Regions from separate parts of the Homo sapiens genome. Here region 2 is linked to region 1. Evidence: promoter capture Hi-C in 16 types of primary human blood cells and fetal thymus (Javierre and others, 2016). All regions are on one chromosome and are shown on one strand. Each heading gives the region's core, a stretch centred on a gene start or on the middle of the fragment in contact. The rest is flanking DNA. Distances are from core to core; before and after follow the strand shown. Region 1 holds the start of KDM5D (lysine demethylase 5D). Region 2 has its middle 320 kb from the start of TTTY14.

Evidence for each region. Contacts are between HindIII fragments. The CHiCAGO score rates a contact against its expected background, and 5 or more counts as called.
Region 2: a contact is called between a fragment that was not itself captured here and the fragment with the promoter of KDM5D in region 1, in 1 of 17 cell types (naive CD4 T cells). The highest score is 5.4, in naive CD4 T cells.

The regions. Positions count from the first base shown.
Region 1 is chrY:19,742,915-19,746,973 of GRCh38, forward strand. It overlaps KDM5D (lysine demethylase 5D), which reads right to left and starts at 1,812. Exons shown (of 27, transcript NM_004653.5): 1 at 1,757-1,812; 2 at 1,471-1,639; 3 at 248-325. The coding sequence starts at 1,620. KDM5D-DT (KDM5D divergent transcript) reads left to right here and starts at 1,871. Exons shown (of 3, transcript XR_938630.4): 1 at 1,871-2,799. The HindIII fragment of the contact is 5,320 bases long and covers 1,189-4,059 here.
Region 2 is chrY:19,392,081-19,395,893 of GRCh38, forward strand. No RefSeq gene overlaps it. Among named protein-coding and RNA genes, the nearest start is that of TTTY14, 320 kb to the left of the region's middle. The HindIII fragment of the contact is 2,732 bases long and covers 1,070-3,801 here.

The DNA.
Region 1 (4,059 bases), core at 562-3,061:
TGAACAGCGAAACAATGCATCATTCTTCCTCAGATATTTAAAGCCTTTGTGTTCTACCATTTTTGTGGACATAAATTATGTATTTTATAGAAGACTTTCTCCAAAATCAGTATTCTGGAAAATGGTGGAGTTCGGGTTCAAATTCAATACATTAGATTTCAAAACTTAAGTTCTACATTATTATGAAACTACAACGGCAAGATTAAAGATCAGATTCCTTTAAAAAAAGTGTGCCTCCCAATCTTACCTCCAGTTCATTTAGCCTTTGGACGCGAGGAGTAAATCTGAAATTGTCAACTTCTACTGCAAAAGGAGGCTGCCAATCCTAGAAGAAAGTGTAAGGACCTGGTAACTATGGCACAGTAAAGGATGAAGATAGTGAAAACCACAATCATTTGTTCCCACTCTTTTAAAGTCTTCTGGTAACCATTTTTGTACACAAGGGCCTCAAATGATTCCTTCTTCATAATCAAGATTAACTGCAAAAAAAAAAAAAAAAGGAAAAACCCTGCAAATCCAAAACTCTCCTTGATATGTGTCCTTCGTAACAGACGAAAAAAAAAAAAAAAACCTCTATAATCCCAAGGCTAGAAAGCGACTCGACTTCCAAGGAATGACGCACATCTGAACAAACACTATGCTATTTGGGTTATGAGTCCTTACTAAAATGAAGATAAATGTAATGCAGATAAAAAATTGTTTCACTTTTTAAAACCTAAGCCATTATCTCTTCCCACTCCCAGCAGTACGAAAAAGTTTAATTGCAAATGCTGAGAAGTGCGAACATCCACATAAAAATAACGTTGCAGCCTGGTTCAATATATGAGAAAAAAGCTGTATGCTCTGCGAAAACTTTTTGACTTCTCTGAATATTGTGTTAGTTGTTCACGACGACAGCCCAGGCTTATTTCAGTTTACATTCTTAATTCAGTCAAACTTCTACGAGGTTCATTTAGTAGTTTTCAGTATAGCAACCCAAAATGGTCTACGTTTAATAATAAATTTAATTGATGGCAAAGGATGCCACATCACTCCCATTATTTGCTATATTTGCTACATACATCTAAGGTCATATCAAAGAAAGAAAACACCAGTCCAAGTGGTTAACACACAAGCTTATATAACTTGCTTCTGTCATAGATCAAGTACTTCTGAGTAAGCTATTTTTTTGCGGTTAAATGTAATAAAAGCTTGTGTATGCCTAAACTATATTTAATAACAGCAGAACGTAGAAATATTTGAATCTTATATTTTTGTCCCTACAGCAGTCAGATGTTTAGAACCCCGTGGAATGTGGCGATCTGATACTAATATTCTGATGCCAGCTTGTTCGGGTCAGAAAAGTTAAATGAGAAATTTGGTGCTAAGGGTTTCTGGTCATGAGTGTAAATAACGCCTCGCCAAGTGGTAAACTGCCCCAACGTTCAAACCAAAGGCTACCCATTCCCAAATTTTGTTTCAAAGACTTACCGCGGGTGGGCGGATTTTGCAGATGCCAGACTTCTCTGCTATGGGCCTTATTTTCGCAATGTAGCCAAGCGGGTCTTGGAATTCAGCCCAGCTAGGCTCAAAAACCGGGCACTCCGGTGGCGGCAGGAACTCGTCACACCCCGGTTCCATGTCGGGCCTTAATGCTAAGCTGTAAAATAAGAATCACATTGTCTTTAATGACGCGCTGGTTCCTCCTACTAAAAGGCCTATGAAAATTTCATTTTCTTGAGAATTTCAAGGTTACTTTAATCCCGTAGCTGCTTACCAATCGTCAGGGATCCTAGTTTTACAGCCACCATCTTGACCTCCGGGCCCTGCAGTGTGGTACGAGCCGTCTCACTCCGCGGATCGATTTTTCCGGCGCTATTTCCAAACCTGTGAGACCTTCCGCACCTGAGATAAACGCTGAGGACGCAAGAGCGATTTTACCAGAGGAAAACAGTCACAGAGCCGTCGCTGGACTCATATTAAACAGTACTGCGACAGAACGAAAAAGCAAGATAAAAATAGTATGGCCGGATCTTTTTTAAAATGGGACCACTGCGCAAGTTACGCCTGCGTATTGCAGGGAAGGACCGTAAAAGGCTGTGGTGCTGATCAACGAAGGATTTCTCGGAGAAAATTCCTCCTTTGCGGAAATGTCCGTAGAAACGCACCTTTTTTTTTTCCTGCCAGGACAAACCGCCGGCGATATCCGTTCATGTGAAAGTGTTTACTAACATTCTCTGAAGACTCACTGGGTTCTCAGCTCGAGAACGTTCCTGTCACAAGACGTTTAGGAGGCAGGATGCCGGTACAATGTATTTATGTTCTTGTAAACTGTTGCATTAACAGTGCACTTCAAGTGGGCACATTTGTCGTTGGATTTTTTACCAACTCGAGCTTGGACTTTAGGACGGGGAAAAGAAGTGCTAAATGTTTTTGAATAAAACCTTTACTGCACATGATAAACATCCCTTAAAAATTACCTAGGAGCACCCTAAATTTTAAAATGATCACAAAGACCTGGACAGATTACAGTAAACCTTCAACATCGCTAAACACACGTACCATAAATCAAAAGAAACACACTGCTAATGATCCGTTTTTTGATGTGGAAATATCATGCTGTTTTTAAGGGAAATTATACTTTATTGCGATGTTTTATTTCAAAACAAGATGTTACACTTTATTTCCTATAATTTTATTTACAATATTTTACACCCGTTAAGCAAAAATCCCCCTACATTGCTATTCTGTTTTTTTTTAATCAGTTCACTACTGTAGTATCTTTTTGTTCTCCATATATTTTTGAAAAATACGCAAAAGGTAAGTTTTAAAAATCAAATGGTAGATTTTATTTGGAAGGGCACTGCCAGAAGTGCCTTAAAGTTTGATAGTTTGACAATTGTTTCGTATTGTACGATTCTTGGCATTTCCGTTTTTTTTTTTAACAATTTATCCATTTCATCTAGATTATCGGCTTCATGAGTTTATTATACTACATTACATATATATTCCTGTTTCAAAAGTTGTTACTTAATTTTCTGCTTTCTTTTTCCTAGTTTTATCTACATACTTTTTCTGTTTCATAAAGTTAGAGTTATAGAGTTCTATTTCATAAAATTAGTTATAGAGCCTGTATTATTTCAAATGATGAGATCTTTTTTCTCTGTTCAAGATAATTCATTATAATACAGCTTTATATTTTATGAATTCATTAGTAAATAGATATTTCAATTTCTACTTTTAGCTATTATAATGTTGCTATTAGCATTTGTGTACCGGTTTTTGTGTGCATGCTTAGTGTCATTTCTCGTGTGTATACACCTACAAGTAGAATTAGTGGGTTATATGGGAACTTTAGGTTTAAACTTTTCTTTTCCAAAGCATCTTCATCATTTAATTTCCATCTAAAGTGGAATACCGTTCTAGTTTCTTCATGTCCTCACCAATACTATAATTACATGACTTACTGATTTGACCATTACAATGTGTATGAGATCTCATAGAGTTTTGAGTTGGACTTCTTGAATTACTAATGATACAGTAGTGTTGAGCATCTTTTCGTAAGGTTGTTGGCTTGTTCATATGCTTTATATACCTTCTCTGGAGAAATGTCTATTCAAAATTTTTGGCTCTTTTCACATTGGTTTGTCTTTTTTTGTTTAGTTGTAATCTTATCTGATTCTTTTATCAAATATTTGATTTTTATAAAAAATAATTCTGTAAGCTGGCTTTTCTCTTTCCTAATAGTAAACTTTGAACAGAAAGATTTTTAATTTGATCTTTATCCAGTTTGCTTTTTTCTATTGTCACTTGTACTTTCAGTGTTGCCTCTGAGGGGATTTTGTCTAACCCAAAATCACAAGGATGTACTCTTCTCCTCTATTCTAGGACCTTTATAGTATTAGCTTCTACATTAAAGTCTTTGATACATTTTGAGTTAACTTGTGTAAACACTGTGAAGTAATGATCCAACTCAATATTTTTGCGTGTTGCCATCTAGTTGTCCCAGAATTTGTTGGAAACATTATTATTGCTTCATTAATTGTTCTTGGCACTCTTGATAACATTCCGTTGGCCATA
Region 2 (3,813 bases), core at 1,186-3,685, 350 kb before region 1:
TGTTGAATATAAGTGGTGAGAAAGGGCATCCTTGTTTTTTTTCAGTTCTCAGAGAAAACACTTTCAAGTTTTCTTCACTCAGTATTATGTTTGCTGTGAGTTTGTCTTATGTGGTTTTTATTACACTGAGGTATGTCCCTTTTATGACAACTTTGCTGGGGGTTTTAATCACAAAGCGATGTTGGGTTTTGTCAAATACTTTTATCTGTGTCTATTGAGATGATAATATGATTTTTGTTTTTAATTATGTTTAGGTGGTAAATCACATTGGTTGAGGGTTAAAGCATCCCTGCATCCCTGGCATAAAATCCACATGATCATAGTAGATTATCTTTTTGATATATTGTTGAATTCAGTCAGCTATAGCGTTTGGTTAAGGATTGTCACATCTATATTAATCAGAGATATTGATCTGTAGTTTTATGTTGTTGCTATATTATTTCTTGGTTTTGGTAATAAGGTGATACTGGCTTTCTCTTGTGGAATATTATCGATAGATTCAAAGCATTTTTTTTTTTTTTTTTGAATCCCTGATAGAATTCAGTGGTGAATCCATCTAGTCCTGGCCTTTGTTTTTGTTGTTGGTAATTTTTAAATTACTTTTTCAATCTCACTCCTTGTTATAGGTCTGCTAAGGGTTTCTAATTCTTACCAGTTTATGCTAAGAGGGTTGTACATTTTCAGGAATTTTTTCATTTCTTCTAGGTTTTCTAGCTCCTGTATGTAAAACTGTTGATAGTAGTCTTGAACAATCTTTTGTATTTCTGTGGTGTCAGTTGTAATATCTCTCATTTTCTTTCTAATTATTTGGATCTTCTCTCTTCTTTTCTTGGTTCATATTGCCAATGGTCTATCAATTTTATTTGTCTTTAAATAACTGCTTTTTGTTTCTTTTATGTTTTGTATATTTTTGTTTCAGTTTCACTTAGCTCCTCTCTGATCTCAGTTATTTCCTTTCTTCTGCTGAGTTTTGGATTGGTTTCTTCTTTCTTTAGTTCCTTGAGATGTGATGTTAGATTGCCTATTTGTGCTCCTTCAGTCTTTTTTAACATAAGGGTTTAAAGCTATAAGCTTTCCTCTCAGCAGCCACTTTGCTGTATCCTGGAGGTTTTTATAGGTTTTTTTCACCATTATTGTTCAGAGCAAAAAAATTTTTAGTGTTTATCTTGATTTCATTTTTGATCCAATGATCATTCTGGAGCAGGTTATTTAATTTCTATGTATTTACAAGGCTTTGAAGGTTCCTTGGAACCTTCAAAGGTTTCTTTTTTCTTTTTTTTTTTTTTTAGACTGAGTTTCACTCTTGTTGCCCAGGCTGAAGTGCAATGGTGTGATCTCAGCTCACTGCAACCTCTGTCTCCTGGGTTCACATAACTCTCCTTCCTCAGCCCCCTGAGTAGCTGAAATTACAGGCATGCACCACCATGCCCAACTAATTTTGCATTTTTGTAGAGACAGGGTTTCTTCATGTTGGACAGGCTGTTCTCGAACTCCCAACCTCAGGTGATCTACCCATCTCAGCCTCTCAAATTGCTGGAATTACAGGCATGAGCCACTGCACCTGGCCTGGAGTTGGTTTTTAATTATATTCCAGTGCGTTCTGAGAGAGTACTTGATATAATTTCAATTTTCTTAAATTTATTGAGGCTTGTTCTGTGGCCTATCATATGGTTTATCTTAGAGTAAGTTCCATCTGCTAAGGAATAGAATGTATATTCTGTAGTCATTGGGTAGAATGTTCGGTAAATACCTATTCTATTTTTCTTAGGTTAGAGTTTAAATCCCTTGTTTCTTTGCTGACTTTCTGTCTTGATAACCTGTACAGTGCTGTAGCCACAGTATTTAATTCCCACATTATTTCAGTGTTGCTATCTATTTTATTTCTTAATTTAGTAGCAATTGTTTTATAAATTTGGGAGTTCCAGTGTCAGGTGCATATATATTTAGGATTGTAATATTTTTCTGTTTGACAAGGCCTTTTATCATAGTATTATAATTCACCATCTTTTTTAACTTATGTTACTTTAAAGTTTGCTGTGTCTAAAATAAGAACAGCTACTTTTGCTCAACTTTGGTGTCCATTTGCATAATTTTTTTTTCACCCATTTACTTTAAGTTTATGTGAGTCCTTATGGGTTAGGTGAGTTTCTTGAAGATAGCTGATACTTGATTGGTGAATTCTCATTCATTCTGCTATTCTCTGTTTTCTAAGTGTAGCATTCAGTCCATTTACAGTTGACATTATTATTGAAATGTGAGATACTCCTCCATTCATTGTGCTGTTAGATGCCTGAATACACCTTCTTTAATTTTTATTTTTATAGGTCCTGTAAGATTTATGCTGTAAATATGCTCTGTTTTGATGCATTTCTAGGATTTGTTTGAAGATGTAGAGGTTTTTTTTGGCGGGGGGAGTTTCTTTAAGTGCTGGCTTGATAGTGGTGAACTCACTCATCATTGGTTTGTCTAAAAAATATGTATGTTTCCTTTAGTTATGAAGCTCAGTTTCACTGGATATGAAATTTTTGGCTGATAATTGCTTCATTTAAGGAGGCTAAAAATAAGCCCCAATTCCTTCCAGCTTGTGGGGTTACTGCTGAAAAATCTGCTGTTAATCTAATAATCTTTATAAGAATCTATAATTCTTTATAAATTATCTAGTGCCTTTTCTTCACAGCTATTATGATTCTTTCCTTCCTCTTGACTTTAGAAAGCCTAACGACAATGTCTCTTGGTGATGACATTTTTGCAATAAATTTCTCAGGTGTTCTTTGAGCTTCTTGTGTTTGGATGTCTACATCTCCAGCAAGGCCAGAAATTTTTTCTGAATTATTATTTCCTCAAATACATTTTCTAAAATCTTAGATTTCTCTTCTTCCTCAGAAATGTCTATTATTCTTAGGTTTAATTACTTAACATAATCCCAAATATCATGGAGGCTTTCTTCTTCTTCTTTTTTTTTTTTTTTTTTTTTTTGTCTTTTTTAGATTGGGTTAATTCAAAACTCTTTCTTTGAGGCCTGAGGTATTTTCTCATACTTGTTTGATTCTATTGCTGAGACTTTCTGGTACTTTTTGCATTTTTCTAAGTGTTTCCTTTATTTCTTGAAATTGTAATTGTTTAATGCTATCTATTTCCTGACAGTTTATTTTCTCTGGTGGTGCCGTGTTTACTTTAATAATCAAAACATTCAAATTCTTCTTCAGGCAATCCAGGGATTTTTTTCTTAGTTTAGATATACTGCTGGTGAGCTAATGTGACATTCTGTGGATGTTAAAGAACCTTGTTTTGTCAAATTACCAGTTACTTTTCCAGTTTCTTCTCCTTTGGGTTGGCTATTTCAGAAAAAAGATCTGGGGCTTATGGCTGCTGTTCAGATTCTTTTCTTCCTTGGGGTTCTCTCGATGTAGTACTCTGCCCCTCTTACTAGAGATGTGGCTTCCTCTGAGCTGAATTGTAGTGATTTTTATTTTTCCTCAGGATCTAGCCACTCAGCAAGCTAACAAGCTCCACACTGATACTAAAGTGCAGAGTCCTGTGATGTGAACCATATTCAGGTCTCTTAGCCATGGATACCAGCACTAGCACCAGTGGAGGTGAAAGGGAAGTACAATGGGCTCTGTGGGGGTACTTAGTTGTATAGTTCTTTAATGCATTAGTGTAGTGCTGGTTGACATCCTCTCAGAAGCTGGTGCTTTCAAGAGAGCACTAGCTGTGGTAAGTATAGAAAGGATCAGACAGTGGATGCACCCGCAGAACTCTCAATAGAATAAGACGTTTGTCCTCAGCTACAATGTTACAAGCTTGGATAGG